5 separate regions of the Homo sapiens genome follow, and regions 1, 3, 4 and 5 are each linked to region 2. Evidence: promoter capture Hi-C in human tissues and cell types (Jung and others, 2019). All regions are on one chromosome and are shown on one strand. The core of a region is centred on a gene start or on the middle of the fragment in contact, and the rest is flanking DNA. Distances in the headings are between cores, read along the strand shown.

Region 1 (4,235 bases), core at 531-3,030, 200 kb after region 2:
GACAGGAGGCAGAGCTTAGGCAGTAACGCTCACTCGCTTCTGCTTACCTCCCGCTGTGTGGCCTAGTTCCTAACAGGCCATGGACAGGTACCCGTCTGTACCCGAGAGTTGGGGACACGTGAATTAGAGGACACTCAGGTGGTGTTCAGTGGAGAATGGATGGCTTGTTTGCTGTGTGAGAAAATCTTCCACATATTTGGTCATAGAGATATTGCATTGTGTGAATGCACAGGAAAAACATTTTGAGTTTTTCCACTCTTAGATCCCTGTGCAATTTTGAGAAATCCAGTCACAACAGTGTGTGGATGTTAATGCCGCCCTTACCACAAGAGGGAGCTTCATTGACGTTGCCTTTCTGGAAAATGGTTCAAAGGACTTTGTTGGAAATTCTACTCTACTCTACTCTACTGTATTTATGTTATGTTATGTTGTTATGTTATGTTATGTTATGTTATGTTATGTTATGTTATGTTATGTTATGTTATTTTAGAGACAAGGTCTTGCTCTGTTGCCCAGGCTGGAGTGCAGTGTTGCAGTCTCAGCTCACTGCAACCTCTGCCTCCCAGGTTCAAGTGATTCTCCTGCTTCAGCCTCCCGAGTAGCTGGGATTACAGGTGGCCACCACCCCAGCCGGCTAATTTTTGTACTTTTAGTAGAGACAGGGTTTCACTATGTTGGCCAGGCTGGTCTAGAACTCCTGACCTCAAGTGATCCGCCCGCCTTGGCCTCCCAAAGTGCTGGGATTATAGGCATAAGCCGCCGTGCCTGGCCCCTGAAATACTTTTTAATATAGGGTGTAAGCCAGGCGCGGTGGCTCACATCTGTAATACAAATACAAATACAAAAATTAACCAGGTGTGGTAGTGCGTGCCTGTAATCCCAGCTACTCGGGAGGCTGAGGCAGGAGAATTGCTTGAACCCAGCAGGTGAAGGTTGCAGTGAGCTGAGATCGCACCACTGCACTCAAGCCTGGCGACAGAGCGAGACTCTGTCTCAAAAAAAAAAAAAGTGTGTAACAGTTGGTGAAAAGGTTCAAAAAAAAAAAGAAAAGAAAAGAAAGGTGACACTTAAATTTACATGACTTTTTTTTTTTTTTTTTTGAGACAGCGTCTTGCTCTGTCACCCAGGCTGGAGTGCAGTGGCACAATCTTGGCTCAATGCAAGCTCTGCCTCCCAGGTTCATGCCATTCTCCTGCCTCAGCCTCCTGAGTAGCTGGGACTACGGGCGCCCGCCACCACGCCCGGCTAATTTTTTGTATTTTTAGTAGAGACAGGGTTTCACCATGTTAGCCAGGATGGTCTCGATCTCCTGACCTCGTGATCTGTCTACCTTGGCCTCCCAAAGTGCTGGGATAACAGGCGTGAGCCACCGCACCCAGCCTACATGACTTAACTTTTTACCTTGTTAAACAGAGAGCAATCAACCCTGTGAACGTTATGTTCCAGATTCTGACAAGTGTGTTGAAAAAATTCTACACACTAAATGAAATAGGAGTAATGGGTGAGAGAGTGTGACCTTGAGTTTCAAGTTGGGGTAAGGGGGGCGGAAAAGAAGACAGTGTCTTGAGGTGGTGACATCTGTAGTGAGATCTGAAATGACGTGTTAGTATATGAAGTCAGGAAAGAGGATTCTGGGAAGATGGCAGAATAGGAAGTATCAAGCAGAAACTACAGGAAGCCATTTTTGTGAACTGAGTTCCTCTGCTGGGCCCTCAGAAACCAGACCTACCCCAGCGATTAGGAAATTACACCTAGGCAATCGTCATTGCCCCACACGCTACAAAGAACGTTCAGTAGACAATGGCTTGAGAAATGCGCCCAGTCCAATCTTTGGGTAAGCCAGGTGCAGAGATGTACAAAAAGACTGTCCTTGGCAAAGTTCTATGGTCACATGATGTTTGAGGCAGTTCTGCATATCATATGAGGGCCTTATTGGAGTTCTTGTGTATCTCTGCCAAGAGAGTACTGCACAGCAGAGGTCATTATTGCAACTTCCGTGCCATTTATTTATTTTGAGACAGAGTCTTGCTCTTTTGCCAGGCTGAAGTGCAGTGGCACGATCTCAGCTCACTGCAGTCTCTGCCTCCCGGGTTCAAGGGATTCCTCTGCCTCAGCCTCCTGAGTAGCTGGGACTATAGGAGCCCGCCACCACGCCCGGCTAATTTTTTGTATTTTAGTAGAGACAGGTTTCACCATGTTGGCCAGAATGGTCTCAATCTCCTGACTTCATGATCCGCCCGCCTCGGCCTCCCAAAGTGCCGGGATTACAGGCATGAGCCACTGCACCCAGCCACTTCTGTGCCATTTAATTGTTCACCAGTTGCCACAGGTCTATCTGTGTACACCTGAGTTGCTTGAGTGGTTCTAAACAAATGAATTTAACTTTCATTGTGGTGTTGAATTTTTGTATATACCTTTTATGAATTATTTTGACCGTGGGCTGACCAATATCATGAGTAAAAGATTTAAAAGGTCTAGAGGAGCCAGGCATGTTGGCTCATGCCTATAATCCCAGCACTTTGGGAGGCCGAGGCAGATGGATCGCTTGAGGCCAGGAGTTTAGAGACCAGTCTGGCCAACATGGTGAAACTCCAATTCTACAAAAAACACAAAAATTAACTGGGCATGGTGGTGTTCGCCTGTAGTGCCAGCTACTTGGGAGGTTGTGACGAGACTTGCTTGAACCTGGGAAGCAGAGGTTGCAGTGAGCTGAGATCGTGCCACTGCAATTCAGCCTAGGCAACAGAGCGACACTCTGTCTCAAAAAAAAAAAAAAAAAAGCCATAGGTAGGAAGCAAAATGTAAATAATGAGAAAAATATATATCTTAAGTTCACATTTGAAATATGTAAGAAAATTTGGTGATGCTGCAAATAAACTGAGGATTGTAATTATATAAATTACAAGTTTTTCCTGAGAAAAAACACATTTTCAACCTAAGTACATTGATCTTAAAGGATTTTTCCTTTGCTTTTTGACCTTGCTTTGTGAAAAAGTGCAAAAATAAGACATGAATAGTCAAAATAAGAATTTTTGGGCCAGGCGTGGTGGCTCACACTTATAATCCCAGCACTTTGGGAGGCCGAGGTGGGCGGATCACGAGGCCAGGAGATCGAGACCATCCTGGCTAACATGGTGAAACCCTGTCTCTACTAAAAAAAAAAATACAAAAAAATAGCCAGGCGTGGTGGCGGGCACCTGTAGTCCCAGCTACTCGGGAAGCTGAGGCAGGAGAATGGCGTGAACCAGGGAGGCGGAGGCTTGCAGTGAGCCGAGATCGCGCCACTGCCCTCCAGCCTGGGCAACAGAGCAAGACTCCATCTCAAAAAAAAAAAAAGGAATTTTTGGCCAGGCATGGTGGCTCACACCTGTAATCCTGGCACTTTGGGAGGCCGAGGCAGGTGGATCACATGAGGTCAGGAGTTTGAGACCAGCCTGGCCAACATGGTGAAACCCTGTCTACTAAAAATACAAAAAAATAGCCAGGCATGGTGGCAGGTGCCTGTAATTCCAGCTACTTGGGAGGCTGAGGCAGGAGAATCACTTGACCCCAGGAGGCAGAGGTTGCGGTGAGCCAAGATTGCACCACTGTCCTCCAGACTCTGTCTCCAAAAAAAAAAAATTCATATCTCACAAATCAAGGTATTTTCCATATGTCATCACACATAGTTAAGGTTTGGTCAGTCAGTGATTGCTTCTATGTCTGCTGGGACTGGGATTTTTACTCTAGGGAGACTGAAATAAGCTTTTGTGAAGAGAAGCACCCATGACACCTTAAAGGAAATGATCGGATTGTTCCATGCATGACTTTTCCACGATGTCATTAGCTTCATAATATTAGCATAAGAGGGTTCCTGACAAGTTTGCATCAACAGCATGTTACCAGAGAAAGAAAGACTTGATTGGAATAGTGATGCTGACTTTGTTCTTTACTGGGCAGGAAATTCAGTTTTCAAAAACATATTGGCCCCATAGGACTCAAGGTGATTTTTTTAAAAAAGTAGTAGCCAATTGTGGTGGCTCATGTCTGTAATCCCAGAACTTGGGGAGATGGAGACAGAAGAATCACATGATCCAGCAGTCAATGACCAGCCTGGGAAACAGGGAGACTCCATCTCTACAAAAAATAAATAAATAAAATCATAGTATATACCTTGATAAGAAGTGAATTTATAGATTTTAACTGAGGTATGTTATGGTTAACAATGTCCATAAATTGTAGGGAATATATCAGGG
Region 2 (3,638 bases), core at 968-3,467:
GCAGCCTCAAACTTTGGGGCTCAAGTGATCCTCCTGCCTCAGCCTCCTGAGTAGCTGTGATTACAGGTACACACCACCTCTCCTGGCTAATTAAAAAATAGATTTATGGAGATGGGAGTGTCTCACTTCACTGCTCAGGGTGGTCTTCAACTTCGGGCTTCAAGTGATCCTGCCACTTTGGCCTCCCAAAATGTTGGGATTGCAGGCATGAGCCATGGCACCTGGCCTCCCAGGCTGTTGTTGAAAGGTCTTTGCAATCTCTAAGAGTTCTGCAGCAGTTTATTCCCTGACAGCGAGAGTCTCATCCTTTGATCCCATTTTGCAGCAGTAGTTGGGTGTTCACTTTTCTTTCCATAAGGAAGCAAGCTTGCCAGTGACCCTCATCCCCCTCCTCATCGATGACTTCTTTGTCATCAGAGCCTTCCTCTTCATAAATTCCCACGGAATCCAAGTTTTCACGTCCCGATTGGGCTTAGTTATGATAGCTACTGGCTCACACAAGCTGCAACAGCACCCCGTCCCATGGAAGCCACCCGACTCTCTCCTCCCTGAGTTTCCTGTCCTGGGAGCCCCCATCTCTGCTCTCCCGGGCTCCGGGCCCTAGAGCCGCACTGCTGCAGAGCCCAGTTCCCAGGGCAGCTCCCTCCACCTATCCACATCCATCTCCAGCTCTCCACCCTCTCTCCCACCAGCCTGGCCTGGAGGTGCTGCAGTGTCATTGACTGCGAGTCCCTCAGCTGCCACCTCCACCGCGATCTGGAAGTCTTTCAAATGCCCTTAAGTTATCTTAGATTTTTCCTCCCCCACTTTATACATAAGCATAGGAGGAGAGCAGGGACTCTGCTGGTGTCTTATTTACACAATGGGATTGAAGGTGTTTGTCTCGCGAAACTAATCGATGGGGTGAGAAGTAGCTGAATAACCTGCAGGGGGCAGCAGAGCCCAAGGCCAGTGATTCCACGTTGAGGACAGTCTCTGCAGCCTGCAAAGGGAGGGAAAGAGAGTTTCCCTGGGGGCTTCGCGGGCAGCCCACCCCCTTCTACAAGTGGCCTCCAGCTGCTCAGAGCAGCTCCAGAAAGGGTGTGGATTCCGAGAAGCTGCAGAGCCCTGGAAAGCAGAAGACCCATGTGCAGACGCATTTGTGGCGTCTCTGTCCTTTCTGGTGTTGTACCTCTGGAGCTGTCTTCTGGGCAGGGTTTGGGGTTTGACATGCATGGGGTCGTTGGGGTCAGAGTTATTTGTATAGATAAAGAAAATGTGTGGCCGGGCGCGGTGGCTCACGCCTGTAATCCCAGCACTTTGCGGGGCCGAGGCGGGCGGATCAAGAGGTCAGAAGATCGAGACCATCCTGGCTAACACGGTGAAACCCCGTCTCCACTGAAAATACAAAATATTAGCCGGGCGTGGTGGCGGGCGCCTTTAATCCCAGCTACTCCGGAGGCCGAGGTAAGAGAATGGCGTGAACTCGGGAGGCGGAGCTTGCAGTGAGTCGAGATCGCACCACTGCACTCCAGCCTGGGCTACAGAGCAAGACTCCGTCTCAAAAAAAAAAAAAAAAAAAGAAAGAAAGAAAAGAAAATGTGTGAAGATCAGGCTAGAGCTAGAGACAGAATTGTTTGGTGGCGTCACCTGGATAAAGGGTTCATGAAGTTGACAGTTTACTTAGGTCAGAAACAAAACCTGGTGAGAGTTTCCTGCTGGTGAAAATGAAGATCTGAAAGGAGGAAGCATTTTCACAAGGGGATGGGGGTGTGTGAGCAAGGCTTGGCCACGCCTCATCCCCAATTCCGGCCCGCTCGAGGACATATGCCTCTCCTCCTGGTGCAGTCGTGCCTGGCCTGGTCTCGGTTCCCCTGCTGCTCTGAGGCCAGCAGTTGGCTCCTATGGACACTGAGTCTGAAATTCCCTGCACACTCCTGTGACCCCGTGCAGAACGAAGGAGCGGGGACTGTCCCTTGAGTGAGGATGACGCTAGTGTTCTCTTCTATCAATAGCAAGTTTGGCTGAAATGCAAATATCCAATAACCAGAGTGCAGAAAGCAGCTCGCCCTTAGAGAAGCTGTGGCTAGAATCCGTCAGTCTGGCTCTGCGGGGCCTGATACCCAGGGCTTCAGCTGTCACTCAGATGTGGGGGGCGGGACCTAGTATTTCATCCAATCAGAGGTGCTGGGGCGTGGCACTGCCCACAGTTCATCCGGAAATGGAGGGGGTCGCTTTCCTCACCTTCCTCGCTGCGCGGGCGGCGGTTGGTAACCGGTCAGACCAGCCCGAGAGGGACCTGGTGCCTGTACCCAGGCTTCTGTCGCTCTGTCGCCTGCGCTATGCCCTGCTGTAGTCACAGGAGCTGTAGAGAGGACCCCGGTACATCTGAAAGCCGGGAAATGGTGCGTGTGCGGGACCAGATGTCGTGAGACGGGGGAGGGGCTGCCTGGAACAGGCGGGAACCGGCTGTGGCGGGACCCGGGCCTCCCTGTGGGCGACTCCGGGGTCTGGGACCGAGTCCTCCTTGAGCAGTTCGGCCCTCGGTCCCCTTGGCCGCTGGACGGGGCTGGGCCAGCAGCCAGGACCCGGGCGTCCTGTCCCGTCCCTGCGCGGCGACTGCGGCCGCGGCCCCTGCCCCGGAGCCCTCTCTGGGCAGTTCCGCTCCCGCAGCCCCGCGTCTCCCCAGATTGTGCGGAAGCAACGGGAGGGTCATGGAGGCATCCTGACTCGGGTGTGGGGTTCGTGCGTGGGAGGAGCAGTGGTCTGTGGGGCCCCCAGTCCCCACTTTCTCCTGTTAAAAATTAAACTGAGGTACGTTAACAATTAAAGAGTTCATTTGAGCAAACAGCGATTCACGAATGAGAAACACCCCGTCCTGGGTTGTGGTTTGTCAACGGAAAAAGCCAAACTATGTAAAATAAAGAAGTTTATTCAGAGCCGAATAGGAGAGACCTTGGCCGAGGGAAACACAACCCCAAGCAGCCTGGAGTAAGTGGTCCCGAGGCGGCTCAAGACAGTTTGGTTTTATTCATTTCAGAGAGACAGGAATTGCAGGGAAAATGATGAATCAGTGCCTGAAAGGTGTAAGTTCCATTGGCAGAAAGGGTGGGACCTGTGGAAGGGGGGTTAGAAGGCACAGGTGGTTGAGGGATTCTGTAGGTGGCAGCTGGTTGAGAGTGTGAAGTTTGTCTAAAGTTTGGAGGAGGTAGGAAGGAAGGGGGTCTGTTATCTGCCACTTGATTCCATCCCAGCCAGAAAACAGACCTGTTTCTCTAGATTTTATGAATTCTGAGGCGTGACTTTACTTTTGCCTTGCGTGGCCTTAGGTTTTGTTTGTAAGTTAGTATCTTCTTGCCACAAGCAGTCTGTTTTTCCATTCTATCTATTTTTACATGAATGTGTGGGAGAGGGTATAAGGAGACCTGTCTCACCTCCCATCCTGTCATACAGAGGCACTCAATTTTCAGGGTTTTTTGCGGGTCCTGTTGGCCAAGAGCCGGTCACTTCACTTAGCTGGAAAGGTACTTTGTTTTTATTTGAGACGGAGTCTCCTGTCGCCCAGACTGGAGTGCAATGGCCTGATCTCGGCTCACTGCAACCTCCACCTTCCGGGTTCAAGTGATTCTCCTGCCTCAGCCTCCTGAGTAGCTGGGATT
Region 3 (4,145 bases), core at 585-3,084, 140 kb after region 2:
TTTCATATTTTCCTTAATAAATCTGCCTTTTTTTTTTTTTTTTTTTTTTTTTTTACCTACAACTGTCTTGGTAAATCCCTTTTTTTTTTTTTTTTTTTTTTTGAGATGGAGTCTTGCTCTGTTGCCCAGGCTGGAGTGCAGTGGCACAATCTCGACTCACTGCAGCCTTTGCCTCCCGATTCTCCAGCGATTCTCCTGCCTCAGCCTCCTGGGTAGTTGGGATTACAGGCGCCCACCACCAAGCCCGGCTAATTTTTGTATTTTTAGTAGAGATGGGGTTTCGCCACATTGGCCAGGCTGGTTTCAAACTCCTGACCTCAGGTGATCCGCCCGCCTCGGTCTCCCAAAGTGCTGGGATTACAGGTGTGAGCCACATCGCCCGGCCAGTCTTGATAAATTCTTTTACCCTTGCGCCACTGGCCCAGATAGTAGCCACTCACCCACAACATAGATGAAGACTCCCACAGAGAGAATGGATGCAAAATGCTTCTTTTAAGAATTTCTGGCCGGGCACGGTTGCTCACGCCTGTAATCCCAGCACTTTGGGAGGCCGAGACGGGCGGATCACGAGGTCAGGAGATCGAGACCATCGTGGCTAACACGGTGAAACCCCGTCTCTACTAAAAGCACAAAAAATTAGCCAGGCATGGTGGCAGGCGCCTGTGGTCCCAGCTACTCGGGAGGCTGAGACAGGAGAATGGCGTGAACCCGGGAGGCGGAGCTTGCGGTGAGCCGAGATCGCGTCACTCACTCCAGCCTGGGCAACAGAGCAAGACACCATCTCAAAAAAAAAAAAAAAAAAAAGCAAAACCAGAATTTCTTACTTATTTTGTTTTTTGGTCTCACTCTGTTGCCCAGGCTGGAGTGTACTGGTGCAATCACAGCTCACTGCAGCCCTCGACTCCTGGGCCAAAGTGATTCTCCTGCCCTGGCCTCCTAAAGTGCTGGTATTACAGGCCCCAGCCACCTTGCCTGGCCTCTTTCCAGACTTTTTTTGTTTTTGTTTTTTTTGAGACGGAGTTTCATTCTTGTTGCCCAGGCTGGAGTCCAGTGGCATGATCTCGGCTCACTGCAACCTCCGCCTCCCAGCTTCAAGTGATTCTCCTGCCTCAGCCTCCCACATAGCTAGGATTACAGGCGTCCGCCACCACGACTGGCTAATATTTTGTATTTTAGTAGAGATGTGGTTTCACCATGTTGGCCAGGCTGGTCTCGAACTCCCGACCACAGGTGATATACCCGCCTCGGCCTCCCAAAGTGCTGAAATTACAGGCGTGAGCCGCCGCGCCCGGCTTTCCAGACTTTTAAAAGTGTCAGACTCTCAATTTCTCCCGGATCAGGGAAAGGGAAAAGGGGAGAGGGGGCATGGCTTCACTAATGGAAATACTCCATAGACGCAAATTTCACCCCCCAGAAGACAGTTGTGCAAGGGCAAAGCTGCAGCCATTCGAAATTGCCAAATAAATATATTTTGGAATAAAATATTTTAATTGCTTTCACCTCTATTAAACATAGAGTCTGGAACTCCCTGCACACACTTATGACACTGTGCAGGACGAAGAAGCAGGGACAGACCATTGACAGAGCCACTTCTAGTAATTAAGACGAGCAAGTTTGGCCGAAATGCAAATTTTCAAAGAGCAGGGCGTAGAGAGGGAACTTGACCTTGGACTGTGGCTTGAAGCGGTCAGTCCTGCTCTGCTTGGCCCTGTTACCCAGGACTTCTGCTGTCACTCAGGATGCAGGGGGCGGGGCCTGGCGCTCCACCCAATCAGAGTCGCCGGGGTGGGGCCCGGCCAACTGTTTATCCGCGGGTCACATTGCCGTTCGCCTCAGTCTTTGGCCCCTCCCGCCGGGTGAGGTTGGCACCCCGTTTTTCCTGCTCTGAGAGGGACCGGTTGCCACCGCCATACTTCTGTCGCCCTGTCGTCTGTGTTGTGACTGCTTTGGACGTGGGAGTCACCTGAAAGCCAGGAAATGGTGAGTGTGAGCCCCCGCTGGGAGTCCCGAGACTTGGGGGAGGGTAGGCGGAGGCTGGTTGGAACTGGCTGGAACCGGCTGTGCCGGGACCCGGACCTCCCCGCGGCGACTCGAGGTCTGGGGCCCGAGCCCCGCTGGCGCAGCTCGGCCTTCGGTCCATTCGGCCGCCGGGTGCGGCTGGGCCGGCAGCCGGGACCCCTGGGCGCCCTGTCTCGTCGCCGCGCGGCGACTGCGGCCCCAGCCCGGGAGCCCTCTCTGGACAGCTCCGCGCCCGCAGCCCGGAGCCTCTCCATATTGTGCGGGGCCACGGGAGGGTCATGGGGGCAATCCCGCCTTGGGTGTGGGGCTCGTGCGGGAGGAGCTGCGCTGTGAGGCCCTCAGTGCCCCCTTTCTCCTGTTAAAACTTAAACAGGCCCGGTGCTGGGAATAGAGGCGTGAGCCACCGCGCCTGGCCTAGCGTGGAGAACTTGTGACAGCGGATAAATGTTTTCCCTGCTGTCTGTGGCTTAGAGCTTGGCAACTGCTGTCGTGTTTTTGTTCACATCATGATCAATGTGTACTAGATGCTTTGTTGTTGTAATCGCCTGAGGGGTTCTTCCTGCCTGTGCTGCAAAAAGAAAGACCAGGGCATTGCAGTAAAGAAAATGTTTGACACGAGATGGACCACGCAACGCCGAAGACGGAGACAGAGTTAGCACTCAAATCAGTCTCCCCGAAGGCTTATAGTTAGGGATTTTTCTTTAATATTTTTTTCTTACAATTTTTTTTTTTTTTTTTAAGACAGAGTCTCGCTCTTTTTTGCCCAGGCTGGAGTGCAATGACACGATCTGGGCTCAGTGCAACCTCTGCCTCCCGGATTCAAGCGATTCTTCTGCTCAGCTTCCCTAGTAGCTGGGGTTACAGGCACGCCACCACGCCCTGCTGATTTCTGTATTTTCAGTAAAGACGGGGTTTCACCGTGTTGGCCAAGGTGGTCTTGAACTCCTGACCTCAGGTGATCCGCCCGCATCGGCCTCCTAAAGGGCTAGGATTACAGGCGTGAGCCACCTGGCCCGGCTAAAAATTGTTTTTTAAACAAGGTCTCACTCTGTCGCCCAGGTTGGAGTGCATGGCGCGATCACGGCTCACTGCATCCTGGACCCACCTGAGCAGCAGCTCAGGTGATTGTGCTGCCTCACCCTCCCGAGTAGCTGGGACTACAGGCGCAGGCGGCTAATTTTTGTATTTTTGGTAGAGATGGGGTTTCGCCATGTTGCCCAGGCTGGTCTTGAACTCCTGGGCTCAAGCGATCTGCTCACCTCGGCCCCCCAAAGTGCTGGGTTTACAGGTGTGAGCCACCGAACTCGGCCAGGGGTTTTTCAAAGGCAGAATCGGGGAAGAGGTGGTGGGAAATGGTCCTCCTGAGTGCTGAGTTGCTTATAGAGGAGCAGGGTTGGTGGGCCTGAGTGGAGCCATGGGTGTCAGACAAGCAAAAAACCTGAAAACACTTATCTGCAGAAGTATCTTGGGACCAGTCTATACCATAGCAAAATTCAGGCTCCTCATCGCTCCCCACTCTGTTCCCCCCGCCCCGACTCATGGTTTTTCATTAGCTTTAGGAAGGCAGTGTTTAAGGAAGAGCTATTATCATTTAAACTATAACATAAATGTCTTCTTTTTTTTTTTTTTTTTTTTTTTTGTTGTTGTTGTTGACGGAGGCTCCCTCTGTCGCCCAGACTGGAGTGCAGTGACGCGATCTCGGCTCACTGCAAGCTCTGCCTCCCGGGTTCACGCCATTCTCCTGCCTCAGCCTCCGGAGTAGCTGGGACTACAGGCGCCTGCCACCAAGCCCGGCTAATTTTTTGTGTTTTTAGTAGAGACGGGGTTTCAACGTGTTAGCCAGGATGGTCTGGATTTCCTGACCTCATGATCCGCCCACCTCGGCCTCCCAAAGTGCTGGGATTACAGGCGTGAGCCACCTCGCCCGGCCAAATGTCTTCTAAAGTTAGCTCAGCCTAAGCCTAGGAGTAATTAAGGCAGCTTGAAAGGTAAAGACAAGAGAAGCAGTTGGCTAGATCTCTTTGACTGCCATAATTTTTTCAGTGTTACAGTTTTTGCAAAAGTGGTTTCATTATCATGGAAATAGTAATAAAATAATATTGTCAACTTAAAAATAATGAGATTTC
Region 4 (4,169 bases), core at 1,581-4,080, 170 kb before region 2:
TCCGGTGTGCGTTTTCATGTGTCTTTGAAAGCTTGTGCATGAAAGAAGGCTTTCCCACATTGCTTACATTTATAGGGTTTCTCTTCAGTGTGAGTTCTTTCATGTCTTTGAACTAAACTGAGATAATGAAAGCTTTTCCCACATATCTTACATTTATGATTTCTACTTCCAGTGTATGTTCTTGTGTATATTTGAAAGCCTCTGAGATGATAAAATGCTTTTACACATTGCTTACCTTCATAGGGTTGTTTTCCAGTTTGAGCCTTTTCAAGTATTTGAGTGTAACAGAAACCACTGAAGGCTTTCCCACATTGTTTGCATTTATAAGGTTTCTCTCCAGTGTAAGTTCTTTCATGTCTTTGAAATGGTCTGTGAGAATTGAAGCCTTTCCCACATATCTTACATTTATGAGGCCTATCTCCACTGTGCATTCTCATGTGTGTTTGAAAGCTTCTGAGACGATTAAGTACTTTCTCACATTCCTTACAGTCACTAAGTTTCTTTCCAGGGTAAGGCCTTTAATGTATTCAAAGGAAGTGGCAATAACTGGAGGCTTTCTCACATTGTTTATGTGTATGTGGCTTCTCTCCATATTCCTGATACTCATGTGGCTTGTGTTGAGCATGAGCTCTATGGTAGCAATTAAGATGAACGACCCATGCTGACTTCTCCACACACACTGCTTTCACGTGGTTTTGCTCAAGGGAGACTTTTTTTTTTTTTTGAGACGGAGTTTCATTCTTGTTGCCCAGGCTGGAGTGCAATGGCTGATCTTGGCTCACTGCAACCTCTGCTTCCCAGGTTCAAGGGATTCTCCTGCCTCAGCCTCCCGAGTAGCTGGGATTACAGGCATTGTGCCACCACGCCCGGCTAATTTTGTATTTTTAGTAGAGACGGGGTTTCTCCATGTTGGTCAGGCTGGTCTCGAACTCCCAATCTCAGGTAATCTGCCTGCCTCAGCCTCTCAAAGTGCTGGGATTACAGGCGTGAGCCACCGAGCCCGGCCTCAAGGGAGATTTTTGTTGTTCACAATACCACCTGGAATGTGGCTGAAAGTTTCTCCAAATTATCTACCTCCTTTACTTTTACAGAATCAGTCTACCATATGATATCTGTAAAAACAGAGAAGTACAATTACTACAGGTTTGTTTATAAGTGTTTTTTATATATATTAATAGGTCTTAAATTTACATTGTTGACATTATCATGCAAAGCTTAGGTGTCATGCCCTGTTTGAACATGAACGGACTGAATGCTGTGCAAGATAACTCAACTGTGGCTATCATCGGAACAGTAATATTCACGTGGGAATTCTTAGTACTGTTTTCCAAGGAAATTATTTTGCAGACACACTTAACAGCTATGTCCCATTTAAGTATGTTTTTGAAGAAAATTTTCTAAGAGTGAATAAATTTAAGCCAGGATTATTCTTTTTTATTTATTTATTTATTTATTTATTTTGCTTGTTTTAAAATTTTCCTGTCTTTTTTTTTAGACGGAGTCTTGCACTTTCGCCTGAGCTGGAGTGCAATGGCATGATCTCGACTGACTGCAACGTCCTCCTCCCGGGTACATGCGATTCTCCTGCCTCAGCCTCCTAAGTAGCTGGGACTACAGGTTCACACCACCACGCCTGGCTAATTTTTTGTATCTTTAGTAGAGACAGGGTTTCACTATGTTGGCCAGACTGGTCTCGAATTCCCGACCTCCTGAACTGCGCCCCACCCCCCCACCCTTTCAAAGTGCTGGAATTATAGGTGTGAAAAATTTCCTGTCACTTTAAGAATTATTCCAAAGACATATCTTTCTCTTCCTAGGGCAAATTACCTTAGATTTCTTCTGGGAATTTTGTACTAATCTTTAATGTTTTGGTCTTCCCATTTCATTCCTAAAATGTAGACCCAGAAGAATCACTATATATTATTATAAAATTACATTGAGGCCGGGGGCGGTGGTTCACGCATGTAATCCTAGCACTTTGGGAGGCCGAGGTGGGTGGATCGTCTGAGCTCAGGAGTTCGAGACAAGCTTGGGCAACACAGTGAAACCCCGTCTCTACTAAAAAATACAAAAAAATATTAGCCGGGCATGGCGGCGTGCGCCTGTAGTCCCAGCTACTCGGGAGGCTGAGGCAGGAGAATCAGTTGAACCCAGGAGGCAGAAGCTGCAGTGAGCCAAGATCGTGCCACTACACTCCAGCCTGGGTGACAGAGCAAGACTCCATCTCAAAAAAAAAATAATAATAAATAAAAATAAAATTATATTAAAAATGTAAGATTTTATGTAGACTGCAGTTATGGATGATTTATTCACCAAACCACAGTTGACTCTTCAACAACACAGGTTTGAACTGCATAGATCTCCTTACATACAAATTTTCTTCAGTTTCTGCTACTACTGAGACAGCAAGACCAACCCCTCCTCTTATTCAGCCTACTCAATGTGAAGACAATAAGGATGATAACATTTATGATGCTCCACTTCTACTTAATGAAATAGTAAATATAGTTTTTTCTCCTTGTGATTTTCTGATTAACATTTTTCTCTGCCTTAGTTTATTGTGAGAAAACAATATGTAATGCATATGACATATAAAATATGTGTTAATTGAATGTATATCTTACCAGTAAGGTTTCTGGTCAACAGTAGGCTATTAGTAGTCAAGTTGCGGGGGAGAAAAAAGTTATTTGAAGATTTGTGACTGCATTGAGGGCTGGTGCCCCTAATCCCTGCATTGTTCAAGGGTCAAACGTATTTCTTTTATATTCTAAATCTTTGAACAGCATTGGTGACGAAGAAACAAATATTCGTAATTGACTAAGTAAAGACATGATGTCCCCCTTACCTATACAGTCTAGGTTCCTGATGGTTTCCCGTAGCACATCTCTGTAGAGACTCTTCTATGATGGACCCAGCAAAGCCCACTCCTCCCAGGCAAAAGATCAAAGCCACATCCTCAAAGGCCACTGAGTCCTGAAACACCCGACACGTGCAGAGGAGGAAAGCTGAAACTGACAGCACTGGGAATCTGTACTCACTACATAAATGTCACATGATGCTGTGGTGTCCAAACATTTATGCAACGACACGGTAATCCAACTCTTACCCTCTTTCTAAACTCATTTTCTCCCAGAATGCAATTCTAATGCTAGAATTAAACGTGTTTGGTAAAATAACAGTCGAATTATAAAATGCCACTCCTTGGTGAGTTAAAGGAGTGACATTTATTGCCTAGATCACCCCTAATATCTATGTGTACAGGATGTTTGTAATTCCTGATGTGACAAAGTCCTCCTACCTAATGGGCAGAAGAGTTAACATCAGCTGTCCTGAGACCGCATATTGTTACAAATGCTTGCTCACAAAGTTGAACCTTTCACTATATCTAGGAACTAAATTTAGTTAGGGGGCTTCACCAACATAAGCGATAATGGAGGATGAGTGTCCCTAAACTATGTAAAAAATATGGTATCTGCTGAACTCCTATGTTCCCTCTGAGAGTTCAAACTTTTGTGATATGCTTGGCAGAGGGAGCATACCTGATCATTCACTACTAGGTTTTTTGCTTGTTTTTGTTTTTGTTTTTGTTTTTTTTGAGACAGAGTCTTGCTCTGTCTCCAGGCTGGAGTGCAGTGGCGCAATCTCGGCTCACTGCAACCTCCGCCTCCTGGGTTCAAGCGATTCTCCTGCCTCAGCCTCCCGAGTGGCTGGGATTACAGGCGCACACCACCATGCCCAGCTAATTTTTGTATTTTTAGTAGAGACAGGGTTTCACCATGTTGGCTAGGATGGTCTCGATCTCTTGACCTCGTGATCCACCCACCTCAGCCTCCCAAAGTGCTGGGATTACAGGAGTGAGCCACCGCGCCCGGCCATTCACTGCTAGGTTTGAATGTTTGTCCCCTCCAAAATGCTTGTTGAAACATAATCGCCAATGTGGCACTAATGAAAGGTGAGGCCTTTAAGAGGTGAGTAGATCTTAAGGGTTCAGACCTCATAAATAAATTAATCCATTCATGAATTCATGGCTTACTGAATTAATGAGTTATCTCAGGAGTGGGACTGATGGCCATATTAAAAAAGAAGGGAACCTGAGCTACCACATTCAGCCCATTCTCCATGTGATACCTTCAACCACCTAGAAACTCTGCACAGCCCCCATGACCAAG
Region 5 (3,730 bases), core at 378-2,877, 140 kb before region 2:
ATGGATGGAACTTGAGGTCATTATGGTAAGTGAAATAAGCCAGGCACAGAAAGACAAATACCACATGTTCTCACTTATATGTGGGAGGTGAAAAACTTCACCTCATGGAGATAGGGAATAGAATAAGTTATCCGGGGCTGAGAAGGGGAAATGAAGAGAAATTGGTGAATATGTACAAATTTCCATTTAGATCAAAGGAATAAGTTCTGATGTTAGAAAGCATACTAGAGTGAACTATAGTTAGCAAAAATATATTGCATATTTCAAAGTAGTTGGAAGAGAGGACTTGAAATGTTACCAACACATAGAAGTGGTAAATACTCAAGATCATGGATACCCCAAATACGCTGACTTGACCATTACACATTCTATGCATGCAAGAAATGCTCATGTGTACCTTATATATATGTAAAATATGTATCAATAAAAGAAAATATATAAGATAGTTTTAAAATAACACTATTGTCAGGTGTCTGTGGGCTGAGGAACAGCCTAAGGTGTAAACTTAAGTTCTTCTCAGGTCTTTTCTTAGTTGCACCTGTCCCTGGGCATGTGTGGTAACTGTCTAATTTTCTCTGCATGTATGGTTATTTTTGCACAACCTAATCTTCAGTGGCTCTCAAAAGGAGAGGAATAAAAGCATTAAGGGAAAAATAAAAGGCACCAGCCTGGAAGTCACTTCAGATGGAGGGGAAGGGCCTTCAAAAAATGGAGAGAGATGCAGCAGCAACAGTCACCACCACTTCTTTGTCTGTAACTCTGTGATCAGAAGCAACAATTATCAAGCAGTGCGCAGATCCCCAATATTTGGAAGACAGGTCCTTTTTGTCCACCCTGGCCCCCCAAAACTGCATGCAGACTGCTGTTAGAACTTATGCATAGCTACCTGTCATGGAGCTGAGGAGGGGGAATGAGTCAGGGCTGCTGACTCAACTAAGAGTTGAAATTGACCGAAATTAACCCAATTTTATTAGCCAATTATTTCCCTGGAAGCTGCAAGCTTTTAATAGTATCCGCAGTTTCAAAATAGCTACATGAGTTGGATTCTGCCAATGCAAATCCAGGTGGGGGATACAGATTCTTCATGCTTTTTATTCTGCCATCTTCCTTGAATCCTCTGACCTGACTTTTTATACTAATACATTACTTCAGGTCCCATCCCACATGTCACCTCCTCAGCAAGTCTTTCTGTCACCTCAGTTACTCCTTTCCATATATACATTTTTTTTAATACACTTTTCAGAGTCAGGGAAATCCGATTAGGTTCACAGACTTTACTGCTTTCTTAACAACCTATGAAAAGTCAAATCATATAAATGAACCAAACTGAATAGTGTCACTGTTACTTTTATGAAGTGTTATCCCGTAGATTTAAAAAAAAAGAAAGAAAGCCGGGCGCGGTGGCTCACGCCTGTAATCCCAGCACTTTGGGAGGACGAGGAGGGTGGATCACCTGAGGTCAGAAGTTCAAGACCAGCCTGGTCAACATGGTGAAATCCCGTCTCTACTAAATATACAAAAATTAGCCGGGCGTGGTGGCAGGCGCCTGTAATCCCAGCTACTCGGGAGGCTGAGGCAGGAGAATCGCTTGAACCCGGGAGGCAGCGGTTGCAGTGAGCCGAGATCGCACCATTGCGCTCCAGCCTGGGCAACAAGAGCGAAACTTCGTCTCAAAAGAAAAAAAAAACTGCTTTGCACCGATTTGCAGAAAAAGAGACAACGAACTCCCTCTCGTGGTGAGGATGGCATTAACATCCACACATAACTCCTTTAGGGTGTGGATTTCTGAATTGTGCTGAGATCTCCAGAATTTACAGCAAGTGATGGTCAGTTTAAAATATTCTGTGCCTTCAATGAAGAAGTAGTGTAGCAGGTTAGGGAGAAGAGAAGCAAATAAAATGGATGAGGTCCTCACTTAGTATATCACAATCTCTCCTGGAAGACTATTTATTTATTTATTTTTTTGAGACGGAGTCTCGCTTTGTCACCCAGGCTGGAGTGCAGTGGCGTGATCTCGGGTCACTGCAAGCTCCGCCTCCCGGGTTCACACCATTCTCCTGCCTCAGCCTCCCGAGTAGCTGGGACTACAGGCGCCCGCCACCACGCCCAGCTAATTTTTTGTATTTTTAGTAGAGACGGGGTTTCACCGTGTTAGCCAGGATGGTCTCGATCTCCTGACCTCGTGATCCACCCGCCTCGGCCTCCCAAAGTGCTTGGATTACAGGCATGAGCCACCGCGCCCGGCTCTGGAAGACAATTTCAAATGAATAAATCAAGGAACATGAGAGAGCCACAAGGGAGTTCAACCTGAGTCCAGTTAGACTCCTTGAAAGGGAAAGCTATTTACAGAATACTTCGGATTTAGCTGCGGAAATGATTTGATGGGTCAGTGGTGGTGGAGTGAGGTTGAGACCATTTAAAATAGGTGACGTAAACATGTGAAACCTCAGACACAGAGCCCTTGGTGTTAACCATGATCTGTTGAAAGTCAGAAGAATGAAGCAGAGGGAATTGTTGGAAGCTCACATTTGATTAGCTTTTTTACATATAACATGTGTTGACAAGGCCGGGAGCGGTGGCTCACGCCTGTAATCCCAGCACTTTGGGAGGACGAGGAGGGTGGATCACCTGAGGTCAGGAGATCGAGACCATCCTGGCTAACACGGCGAGACCTCGTCTCTACTAAAAATACAAAAAATTAGCTGGGCGTGTTGGCGGGCGCCTGTAGTCCCAGCTACTCGGGAGGCTGAGGCAGGAGAATGGTATGAACCCAGGAGGTGGAGCCTGCAGTGAGCCGAGATGGCGCCACTGCACTCCAGCCTGGACAACAGTGCGAGACTCCATCTCGACAACAACAACAACAAAAAACAATGTGTTGACGTAGAAATTATTTATTGATGTATTTTTCTCAAACTAATAATTATTTTGAAGGGTTTTTTTTCCACCATGTAAACATAACCAACTCCCAGGAGCTTCCATGTGTATATGCTTAAATGTATAATATGTGTAAAAGTTCTATCAGACTTAAATCATCCATTTATCACACTTTAAACACCTATGAATGACCAGCCTGGGCAACATACCAAGACCTAATTTCTACCAAAAAAATTTTCTTTCTAATGATCCAGGCATAGTGACATGTACCTGTAGTCCTAGCTACTCCAGAGGATGAGGTGGGAGGATTGCTTGAGCCTAGGAGGTTGAGGCTGCAATGATCCGTGATGGCATCACTGCACTCCAGCCTGGGTGACACAGTGAGACCCTGTCTCAAATAGAAGAAAATGTCAAATAAGATGAATGTGATTGCTTAAACTCTTCCACACAGAAGAATTTATCAAGATGGTCTTCAGAGGTATATCATGAGGAAGCAGTACAGTGCAATGAGGAAAAAACAACAAAAAACAAGTGAAGGGGGCAGAAGACCTCAATTCTACTCTTTACTCTCTCTAGATGTGAAACAACCTTGGGCAAGTCACTGCGCCTCTTTGAGCCTGTTATTTCATCTGTAAGAAGCTGAGATAATTAATATATCATAGATAATGTAGTGTTCTCAGTAGAAACTGAAACAGCACTCTGAGATCAAACTCATTAATATTCCTACAACAAAATGAGTAAATACTTGAAACAGAACAAAACAGCCAATAAATAGCCTCTTATTTCTTGATGTCAGGTTCATGCCTACCTTACAAAATAGAGTTGTCAGAGCTTTTTGGTTCGTAGAACTGAAGAA

The links. The method cuts DNA at HindIII sites, captures the fragments that hold promoters and counts their contacts. A contact is called where the count stands out against the background at its distance.
Region 1: a fragment that was not itself captured here is called in contact with the fragment with the promoter of ZNF700 in region 2 in 14 of the 25 tissues and cell types used here (H1 embryonic stem cells, IMR-90 fibroblasts, adrenal gland and 11 more).
Region 3: a contact is called between the fragment with the promoter of ZNF844 here and the fragment with the promoter of ZNF700 in region 2, in 2 of the 25 tissues and cell types used here (adrenal gland and small bowel).
Region 4: a fragment that was not itself captured here is called in contact with the fragment with the promoter of ZNF700 in region 2 in 4 of the 25 tissues and cell types used here (bladder, dorsolateral prefrontal cortex, heart right ventricle and 1 more).
Region 5: a fragment that was not itself captured here is called in contact with the fragment with the promoter of ZNF700 in region 2 in 2 of the 25 tissues and cell types used here (bladder and mesenchymal stem cells).

What each region holds. Positions count from the first base shown.
Region 1 is chr19:12,126,584-12,130,818 of GRCh38, forward strand. No RefSeq gene overlaps it. Among named protein-coding and RNA genes, the nearest start is that of ZNF20, 12 kb to the right of the region's middle. The HindIII fragment of the contact is 9,523 bases long and covers 1-4,235 here.
Region 2 is chr19:11,922,890-11,926,527 of GRCh38, forward strand. ZNF700 (zinc finger protein 700) reads left to right here and starts at 2,218. Exons shown (of 4, transcript NM_144566.3): 1 at 2,218-2,384. The coding sequence starts at 2,322. It also overlaps a transcript of ZNF69 not described here. RefSeq lists enhancers at 124-914, 915-1,704, 1,861-2,433, 1,881-1,930, 1,981-2,090 and a silencer at 2,481-2,680. The HindIII fragment of the contact is 4,963 bases long and covers 1-3,638 here.
Region 3 is chr19:12,062,897-12,067,041 of GRCh38, forward strand. It overlaps ZNF844 (zinc finger protein 844), which reads left to right and starts at 1,835. Exons shown (of 4, transcript NM_001136501.3): 1 at 1,835-1,980. The coding sequence starts at 1,978. RefSeq lists an enhancer at 1,920-2,009 and a silencer at 2,100-2,279. The HindIII fragment of the contact is 18,413 bases long and covers 1-4,145 here.
Region 4 is chr19:11,756,961-11,761,129 of GRCh38, forward strand. No RefSeq gene overlaps it. Among named protein-coding and RNA genes, the nearest start is that of ZNF441, 8.0 kb to the right of the region's middle. The HindIII fragment of the contact is 5,499 bases long and covers 82-4,169 here.
Region 5 is chr19:11,783,622-11,787,351 of GRCh38, forward strand. ZNF441 (zinc finger protein 441) reads left to right here. Exons shown (of 4, transcript NM_152355.3): 4 at 1-457. Among named protein-coding and RNA genes, the nearest start is that of ZNF491, 13 kb to the right of the region's middle. The HindIII fragment of the contact is 7,851 bases long and covers 1-3,730 here.